Regions from separate parts of the Homo sapiens genome. Here region 1 is linked to region 2. The links are contacts of gene promoters, found by promoter capture Hi-C in blood cells and fetal thymus (Javierre and others, 2016). All regions are on one chromosome and are shown on one strand. Each heading gives the region's core, a stretch centred on a gene start or on the middle of the fragment in contact. The rest is flanking DNA. Distances are from core to core; before and after follow the strand shown.

The links. Contacts are between HindIII fragments. The CHiCAGO score rates a contact against its expected background, and 5 or more counts as called.
Region 1: a contact is called between a fragment that was not itself captured here and the fragment with the promoter of MZT1 in region 2, in 2 of 17 cell types (activated CD4 T cells and fetal thymus). The highest score is 6.4, in activated CD4 T cells.

The regions. Positions count from the first base shown.
Region 1 is chr13:73,709,971-73,715,329 of GRCh38, reverse strand. The region is part of intron 7 of KLF12 (KLF transcription factor 12); the gene reads left to right. Among named protein-coding and RNA genes, the nearest start is that of LINC00393, 51 kb to the right of the region's middle. RefSeq lists an enhancer at 1-401. The HindIII fragment of the contact is 159 bases long and covers 3,778-3,936 here.
Region 2 is chr13:72,725,628-72,730,711 of GRCh38, reverse strand. MZT1 (mitotic spindle organizing protein 1) reads left to right here and starts at 3,083. Exons shown (of 3, transcript NM_001071775.3): 1 at 3,083-3,188. The coding sequence starts at 3,110. BORA (BORA aurora kinase A activator) reads right to left here and starts at 2,789. Exons shown (of 12, transcript NM_024808.5): 1 at 2,705-2,789; 2 at 1,619-1,786. The coding sequence starts at 1,771. RefSeq lists enhancers at 2,508-2,557, 3,278-3,347 and silencers at 2,768-2,917, 3,441-3,622, 3,578-3,637. The HindIII fragment of the contact is 9,444 bases long and covers 2,269-5,084 here.

The sequences.
Region 1 (5,359 bases), core at 2,608-5,107, 980 kb before region 2:
GAGTCCATAAAGCGCCGGCCACTTACCTCGGGAGCCTTTCGTACTCATTCATCCTGTGTACCTCTCAAGTCCAGTTCCCTCCTTCTAGGCGGAATGTATTCTCTCTCTCTTGAGAAAGAGAGAAACTTGAGAAACCAGTGAAGTATTTGAGCTTTTAAAATGTTGGGAACATAGTGATCTAGTAGTCTTTCTCACAGTCAGCATCACCACTTAATCATTATATAGGCTATCAGTTTTAAAAAATGTCCACGTGGCACATCAAAGAAGAAGCTGAACACAATTATTCTCTCTCTTAAAGTTAGTATTTTATCCATTCCTTTAGATTATGCTTTTTGCTCTCCTCAAAACTCTCTCCCAAATAGCAAATAGGTAAACAACTGAAAAATAAAAAATGACAGATACGTAGCATTGTGGGAAGTTTTTACAAACATTCAGGCATAACTCCAGTTGATTCACACTGGTATTTTTTTTATATAGGGAGAGGAGTTTTAGTATTGACAGTTTACAGAAAAGGAAATTGATACCACAATTGACTCACTGCCTTTGCCACTGTTCCCCCATCCATCTAGGAAATGAACTGGTGACTCTGCACTTAGCCCCTGCCCACCCCATCCTCTGCCTTCTGTGTCCCTCAGCTGGCATCCTCTGGCTTCCTGAGCTTCCAGTTCCTCCAGGATGCCTCCAGTGCAAGGCCCTGGCAAGAGACTGAAGATAGGAAGAGGGCCCCACAGTTCCACCACTTCTTCTAAGAAGAGTGGTGACTGGACTGCGTGAAGCCCAAAGAAGCCGATAGAGCAGGGAAATTCATTCACACATTCCCGGTAAAACATGGCTCACAGCAAGCAAGTCCAGTCCAGCGTCTTTCCTTGACAGCATCTGCCACTGACTGGAAGCTTCACATGTAACAGATTCCCATCTCAGACATGTGAAAAGAACTGTACTCTGTAAACTGCCTCCCAGCTTAGGTATCAAAATAATTGAAATTAGCATCATTTTCCATTTAGCCCATGTTCTCTCTCTGCTCCCTGTTCTTTTCCCTTTCCTACTTAATTAGAGACAGGGTCTCACTATGTTGGCCAGGCTGGTCTTGAACTCCTGGGCTCAAGTGGTCCTTCCACCTTGGCCTTTCAGAGTTCTGGGATTACAGGTGTGAGCCACTGCACCCAGCCTCTCTTTTCTACTTATTCTAGATTCTTCCTTTTCTACGATTCTGAGCTTCCCAAAGAGAGGTTTTTATCTGTTTCTTAGGCTCTATTTTTAAGTCAGTTCCTTTATCATTAAGGCAAAGAATGAGTGTGAAGACATGGAAATTGAGTAAGTATATTCCATCCTACCAGTAGATAGTGAACACAGATCATGGCAGGAAGTATGATTAGACCATATTACTGACTTTATAGGAGCATTTCTGTTTTTAAAAAAATGACTTTCTACAATGAATCATCACATATTTTGAGTTATTCCTATTCTCTTTGAGTTTTCTGGAATACATATTAGCCTCATTTTCACACAGACACCTCCACTCCTCTTACCCAAGTGATGAACAGTGAAAGAGAGGAAAATTTTTAATCAGGTACTATTAAAGGATTTAACTCCATGGCAGTATAGGATTGCATCTTACAGATTCTAACATACACCATGAGAGCAGAGGAGACATCATTTATGCATTGTAATTCAAAACAATCTGAACCTTGAATGCTATGCTGAAGCAGAATTGATTAGCTTGGCTATTAATACAATGAAATCACAGACTCTAAGGGTCAGAATGGACTTTATATGTTACAGTCTAGTGTTTCCTAATTCGGGGAACCCCTTGCGTGTCATATTTCGCAGAGAGCAAGTCACTGCTGTGCAGTTTTCTGCATACTTATGTGTATTTTAAAAAATTTGTTATTAACAACCAGATGGTTGTAGCTGTTATTATCTCTTTGGCACTTCTGGCTGACTATTGTTCCCACATTAGTAGTTTAACCAACTCTCCTTAAATGCTCTGAGTGGCCGCATATTCTTCTGCAACACAATCTGAAGACAGAGTTCTCCTCTCTTACAATGTCCAGTAGCCTCTTACGGTGCTGTTTAGGTCTTGGAACCTTCTGGTTGAACAGAATGGCTCTAATGATAATGCTATAATTTTCACTCACTGGCCCCGGTGTTCCTCTCAACACTGTCATGAACCAACTAACATCTTAATTCTCCAAATCAAACACCTCCAGTTTTCTCAGCCGTGTCTTTGTAGATACACTCCAACTGATCACTGTGTCTTTTTAAGTTTTCATACCACAAATTGAGGGAACATATCCTGTGAATGGACTTCTCTTAATACAGGCGTACCTCAAAGATCCTGTGGGTTCAGTTCCCGACATCCCAATAAAGTAAATATCACAAGAAAGGAAGTCACACAATTTTTTTGTTTCCCTATTACATTTAAAAGTTGTGTTTACACTATACTCAAGTGTGCAATAGCATTGTCTAAAAAAAGTACATAATTAAAAAGCACTTCATTGCTCACAAGTACTAACAGTCATCTGAGCCTTTAGAGTCGTAATCTTTTGACTAGTGGAGGGTCTTGCCTCTGTGTTGATGGCTGCTGACTGATCAGGGTGATAGTTGCTAAAGGTTGGAGTGGATGTGGAAATTTCTTAAGACAGCAATAAAGTTTGCCACATCAGTGGACTCTTATTTCATAGAAGATTTCCCTGTAGCCTGTGGTGCTGTTTCATAACATTTTACCCACCATAGAACTTCTTTCTAAATTGCAGTCAATCTTCTGATGCTGCTTTATCAACTAAGTTTATAAAATCTTCTAAATCCTTCATTGTAATTTGGACAGTGTTGACAGCATCTTCACTGGGAATACATTCCATTTCAAGAATCACTTTTTTTGCGCATCCGTAAGAAGCAGTTCCTCATTCATTCAAGTTTTATCATGAGATTGCAGGAATTCAGTCACATCTTGAGTCCACTTCTAATCCTTTTTTTTTTTTTTTTTTTTTTGACATGGAGTTTCGCTCTTGTTACCCAGGCTGGAGTGCAATGGCGCAATCTCGGCTTACCTCAGCCTCCGCCTCCCAGTTTCAAGTGAGTCTCCTGCCTCAGCCTCCCAAGTAGCTGGGATTACAGGCATGTGCCACCATGCCTGGCTAGTTTTGTATTTTTAGTAGAGACAGGGTTTCTTCATGTTGGTCAGGCTGGTCTCGAACTCCCGACCTCAGGTGATCTGCCCACCTCAGCCTCCCAAAGTGCTGGGATTACAGGCGTGAGCCACCGCGCCCGGCTCCACTTCTAGTTGTAATTCTCCTGCTGTTTCCACCACATCTGCAATTCCTTTCTCCATGGAAGCCCTGAATCCCTCAAAGTCATCGATGAGGATTGAATGAACTACTTCCACATTCCTGTTCATGTTGATTTTTGACTTATCATGAATCACAAATGTTCCTAATGGCATCTAGAATGGTGAATCCTCTCCAGGGGTTTTTAAATTTAATTTGCCTGGATTCACAAGAGGAATCACTAGCTATGGAGCTATAGTCTTACGAAATGTATTTCTTAAATGATAAGACTTAAAAGTCAAAATGACTCCTTGATCCGTGGGCTGAAGAATGCATGTTGTGTTAGCAGGCAGAAAAACATCCATCTCCTTGTACATCTCATCAGAGCTCTAGGGTGACCAGGTGCATTGTCAGTGAGCAGTAATATTTCTCAAGGAATCTTTTTTTCTGAGCAGTAGGCCTCAACAGTGGGCTTAAAACATTCAGTAAACCATGCTGTAAAATCCAAGCTTTGTTGTTACATTTATACAGCACAAGCAGATTTAGCATTAGATTTAGCATAATTCTTTAAGGGCCCTAGGATTTTCAGAATAGTATATGAGCCTTGGCTTCAGCTGAAGGTTACTGTCTCCATTAGTCCCTAACAAGAGTCCATCTGTCCTTTGAAGCTTTAAAGCTAGGCATTGACTTCTCCTCTCTAGCTCAGAAAGTCCTACATGACATCTTTCAATAGGAGGGTATATCATCTACATTGAAAATCTGTAGTTTAGTATGGCTGCCTTCATCAGTGATCTTAGCTAGATCTTCTGGATACCTTGCTGCAGCTTCTACATCAGCACTTGCTGCTACAACTTGCACTTATATGTTATGGAGACAGCTTCTGTCCTTAAACCTCATGAACCAACCTCCGCTAGCTTCCAACTTTCCTTCTGCAGCTTTCTTACCTCTCTCAGCCGTGAAGAACTGAAGAGTGGCCCTTGCTCTGGATTAGGCTTTAGCTTTGGGGGATATTGTAACTGGTTTGATCTTCTATCCAGACCACTCAAACTTTCTCCAAATCAGCGATAAGGCTGTTTTGCTTTCTTATCATTTGTGTGTTAACTGGAATAACATTTTAATTTCCTTCTGGAACTTTTCCTTTGCTTTCATAGCTTGGCTAACTGGCTCAAGAGGCCTAGCTTCCAGCCCATCTCAGCTTTCGAAGTGCCTGACTCGCTAAGCATAATCATTTATAGCTTTTGATTTAAAGTGAAAGATGTATGACTTTTCCTTTCACTTGAACACTTAGGGTTACTAACTGGCCTAATTTCAATATTGTTGTGTCTCAAGGAATAGGGGGGCTCAAGAAGAGGGAGTAAGATGGGGTAGCAGCTGGTCAGTGATGCAGTCACAACACACACAACATTTATCCATTAAGTTTGCCGTCTTGGGTACAGTTCATCGAACCCAAAACAATTACAGTAGAAACATCAAAGGTCACTGATCACAGATCACCATACAAAATATAATAATAATTTAAAAGTTTGAAATATTGTGACAATTACCCAAGTATCACACAAAGATGCAAAGTGAGCACATGCTCTTGGGAAAATGGCGCCAGTAAACTTGCCTGACATAGGATTGCCACAAAACTTGAATTTGTAAACACACACACACACACACACACACACACACACACACACACAGACAATATCTTCGAAATGCAATAAAGTGAAGTGCAGGAAAATAAGATATGCCTGTATATGCAAAAATGGTGTTAAGTTTTTTTTAGCAGTTTACTCTATTGGGTTATCTAAATCAAAAACTGCTAACAACTGTATCTTGTCTATCCCTTGTACCTATAATAGATTTCTTTTAAACCTAAACATGCCATGTTGTATGTGTGGTTGGAGCTGTCCCTTAATGATGGCTTTGCTTGGAAGTAGTGTGTTCCCTATCACTGAAAGTGTTGAGGCACAGGCTGGAAATACAGGACAGAATCATTATTCTGAGGTTGCACATACTTTTTCAAGTCTAAGAAATAATTATTCTATATTCATTTTCTTGATTTGGGCCCATTATTCTAATAAATTGAAATGACTTGAAAGTTCTCC
Region 2 (5,084 bases), core at 1,834-4,333:
ACAACAGAGTAATAAAGATATAAAACTTTCACAATTAACACTCATCAGTGTGATAAACTAAGCCCATGTAAAAGTAAAAATCTCTCACAGTTAACAAACGTCTTTACTTTCACTAAGAAGGAACTGAAATTAAAGTCCTTAGTCACTTTGGAGGTGGCTGCAAAAGCTCACAACATAGTTGATCCTTAAAATAATTATGAATGGCAACCAGTGCTGCCTTTCTGTACTCAACCATGCAACTGAATTAAAGGTTTATCCAAATCCTAATCTGTAATTAGAAATATATTCTAGGCAAATTCAGTCCTAAAAACGCAAGATGCCATACATTCCAACTTTGAGGATTAAGCTGCCGTCAATCTATTATTTATTTTTAGTAAGACCAAGAGATAAATTTTAATGATTCAATTAAAAATCATAAGGTCAGATTGATGAAATGACTCAATATAAACTGCTCGACCTTCCACTAGTACATACTTGCTCATTGTAAAACCTGTATGAAAGTGTAGCAGAAACAGCCACCCTATTTGCAGTTTTTCTAAGTAACTTGGTAGGTTGAAAGATCCAAGGTCAAAAGAACTTATCCAGTGTAGCAAATAACAGTAAAATAAGATAAAGTGGCCCGGGCATGGTGGCTCATGCCTGTAATCCCAGCACTTTGGGAGGCTGAAGTGGGTGCATCACATGAGGTCAGGAGTTCGAGATCAGCCTGGCCAACATGGTGAAATCCCATCTCTACCAAAAAAAAAAAAAAGATAAAGTGATGAAGCCTTTTCTAATATCCTGAAGAACACTTTTCCTTCATATTACTATTGTCCTAAGTACTAATCATATCACCTATCACACTGCCTTGATATTACTCATCTAGTTCTGTTTAACACATTAAAATAGGGGTTAGTTTCTTTTTATAATAGATTGCAAGCTAAGAATTATTTTGACAGTTTCAAATGGTTGGGAAAACAAACAAAAAAATATCTTGTGACATGTGAAAATTATATGAAATTCAAATGTGTCCATAAATAAAGCTGTATTGGAACAGAGTAACATTTATCTCTTTACACATTGCCTATGGCTGCTTTTGTGATACAAGACAGAAGTGAGTAGTTGTGACAGAGACCAAATGACCTGTAAAGCTTAAATATTTACTGTCTGGCCCCTAACAGAAAGTTTGTGACCCATACATCGGAGTATAACCTCCTTAAGGATTTGTGCCTAATGATCCTAACTTGTTCACAGTGTAATCCCTGCTTAGCACTGTATCTGACACATAGCAACACTCAAATAATGTTTGCCAAATAAGTGAGAACAGAATATTAGATGATGCAGCTTCTTCTCTAATGTATTAGTAGCTATATCGTCAACCACAGAATGTAGCTACACCCACAACTGCAGGAAGCTAACGTATGTTCTTGAACTTAAAAAAAAAAAAATCTTCTAGCTAACTTATTAACCTAACCACTAGATTATAATGAACACTACAATTTAAAAAAGTATATTGCAGCTATATATGCTCCATAATGTATTTCCTCCTTACCTTGTAAAGACAGATGTTTACATTTAAAATTATTTGTAATTACTTACATTTAAAATTAGTTGTAAACACTAGTCAGGAATAACTTACTGGTAATTTTGTTGATTTAAAAACAGAAGGACTGGCGAGAGTTTGTTCATGGAGATTAGAATAATCACTAGGACTTTCAAAAGGATTTAAAACAGGGATCCTTCCTGGAGTTTCTGGTGTTATTTGCATCTTTGATTCCTTGACATCTCCCATAGCACAGAGAGAAAACTAAAAAGAAATCAAGAGTATGCATGTTAAAATTACAAAGTCCCATAGATATTAATTTTAACTATTAAAATGTACTCGACAAATGTGTCACAAAAAACAACTCAAAACCTCACACTCTTGGGGCTATGATACAGCTTACAAAAAAAGTATCACATATAAATGTTCTCAACTGATCCTCGAAACAACCTTGAAAGCTATAGCAGTAACTTACTAGTGATATTATTTTGCGAAAGTATTAAGCTCAGAGAAGTGAAGTGGCTTATACGCAGCAATCAAATATGAATGAATTCAGATCTGCCTCTGAGGAAACTAAAGGTTACAACAGGCCCAGATCTCTTCTCAACTAAAGGACTTATAGCTACAATTTTTTTTAAATTCATCATCTCATGTCTCAACACTATGAACATTCTTCGGATACCCTATCCAACTACAGTTGCTATTAAACAATTCTTTGTAGCAAGCAGGTAAGAGATGAGGAAGCTTGTGCCTTTCTTGCACATGAGTCCTAGCCAGAGAAGTATGATTGACAGGGGCTAGGAAATTAACTGCCTGGGGTCCCCTTTCCTCCAAAAATCCTCCTTTCGCCAAGACCTCCCCTCCACCCCTCCCGGGATAGAAAGGGAGACTGCATTACTTGCAATCAAAGGAGGCTACAGAGGCTACACCTTGGCGGGGTGGGGTGGAAAAGAGTCTACTTCTGGAAGGTTGAGATGCAGCCGGCTTCCCTGGATGGAGTGCGAAGGAGGCGTCGCCCCCAACCCTACGTGGCCACTCTTTCTGGTGCCCCTCTCTTCCACACCTACTCCCTGACTGCTCCCATTCACCAGGGGCGAGCGGGCAGGCAAGTCAGGAGCTGGGAAAAGAAACCTCTCCATTCAGACAGGAGGAAAGGCCAGGGACCACAAAGAGCGTACCTACCGGTGCGTACAAAACGAAGCCCCCAGTACCGACTCCAGGGAGCTCCGGGGGCCAGGCCAGCTTCCACGACAGGCATAGACTCTTTAACTCCCCGCTTCCGCGCTGTCTTGGGCCAACCAGGGCACGGGGCTTGTGAGCGACTAGCCAATCGTGTCGTCCCGCCATCCGCGAACCAGCCAATCGCACGGAGGCCGCGTAGGAAATTCGAATGGCAACTCCTCGCTCCACGTTCCGCGCAGAGGAACGTGGCTCCAAATTCAAATCAACGCAGCCTCACGCCGGCGGCGAGCGCGAGGGGCGGAGCCTGCCCGGCGTGGGCCGAGACGCGCTGTGTGATTGCCTCGGAGAGAGGAAGGCGCTCCAGTTCCGGGTCAGGCCCTTCTCCCGCCTCCCTCGGCCTTAGCCATGGCGAGTAGCAGCGGTGCTGGGGCGGCGGCGGCGGCCGCGGCGGCGAATCTGAATGCGGTGCGGGAGACCATGGACGGTGAGTTTCCGTTGCGCTCCCTTTACCTTGCGTGCCTTCCCAGAGCCAAGGCCCCCAGGCGGGAATGAGCCTGGGGAGGACTTCAGGTCCCCTTAGTGCCCCAAACGGCATCTTCCAAGATCTTTGGTAGGGACCTGCCAGGGCCGCAGGGCTGATGGCCCTATCCCTTGAGAGTTGTCTCCGCCGCTGCGTAGTTTGTCGCGCGCGCTAGGCGTTGCGGCCCCTAGTCAGCCGGTTGCGCACCGCGTCCCTCTCGCGCGAATGCCGCGCCCCCTCTATCCCGCATCCCAGGTCCGCCCTACCCGCCCGATCTCCTGCGGTGACAGCGTCACGCCCACCCCACCCAGTACACCCGTTCCCTCCTGCGTGCCGCGTCCCACCCGATTCCCGCCCGGGGCGCTTCGGGGGTCCCCAAGGTTGGGATCCCGGCGGGGACAGGGGCCAGGTGTTTGGTCACCGCTATGCCTCCTGTTCTTCGCACTTAAGTAGGCACCTTTAATATCCGGCGAATGAACAAGTTCCCCTTTGGTCATAATTATCCTAGTTTCCTCTTGAAGCGGGTGACACCAGTGCCCAAGTGCTATGGTGTCGCCTGTTTTCGGCCCCGGAGGCACGTGTGTGTGAAGCCTACACAAGTGTTGCAGAACACGAAATTTGTGTCTTGCGGTTACCCTCTGTCTACCCTCTAATGTCGGTTCTGCCACTTTATGCCCCTGTGGTGAGCTTGGACTAGATACTTAAACATCATTGAGCCTGTTTAGTTTTTTTTTTTTTTTTTTCTGTAAAATAAAACCCTACCTCCAGGAGTTGTGAATATTTAAATAAGACAACCATGTAAAAACATATCAAAGATGATCAATTATTTTTATATTATTTCAGATGGCCTCTCTCTTGTAGTCTTCTTTCTTTGTCTCCTTTTTACTCACATCCACCTGTATTATGAGTGTTTGATCGATGTTGTTATTTGCAGTGGGCCTAGACGTTTTCCAGGGTCTACTCACGTCAGCTTCCGTCTCTGTTAAAAGATAACCCTATGAAATTCTCACTGCTGTATCTCTCTCTCCTTCACCGTAGGCTCTTTTTTTCTTTTTTGAGACACAGTCTTGCTGTAGTTGCCCAGGGTGGAGTGCAATGGCGCAACCTCGGCTCACTGCAACCTCCGCCTCCCGGGTTCAGGCGATTCTCCTGCCTCAGCCTCTGGAGTAGCTGGGATTACAGGTGCCCGCCAGAACACCCGGCTAATTTTTTGTATTTTTAGTAGAGACGGAGTTTCCCCATGTTGGCCAGGTTGGTCTCGAACTCCTGACTTCAGGTGATCCACATGCCTCGGCCTCCCAAAATGCTAGGATTACAGGCGTGAGCCACCATGCCCGGCCTCATTTTCTTATGTAGCACTTGCAGAGGGGCTGCTGGCTTTTTCTGCACTGGTCCTGGTTTTCTTTTCAAAGAATTACACTTTTAGAGCCTTTGCATCTAATTTTTCACTTGTTCAGTATCTACCTTGCTGTTTTTCTGAGAATGTTACTCTTAATATTCAGCTTATTTTTCTATCCTTTTCGATGTATCAACACTTAATAGTTTTATTTTGTAAGTGGATTTATGTATGAATATATATATGTGTGTGTATATAAATATAAATTTACTGTCTTGTATATTTCCTTGGAAAAAGGTAGAGTATAAGACCTCACTTCTAGCCTATTTTCTTAGGTTAGCTGTACTTAGGTTCCTTATGTATATGGCCACAGGATCCCATTTGAACAGAAAACTCACATTTTCTCTGGTGGAATCACTGATGTACAATTGAGAACTGATGGTTTGTGTTGGCTGCATCATCAAGATCTCTTCTGAGAAAACTTGGTGTGAAATGAAGATTATAAAGAGAGTAAGAACACAAAA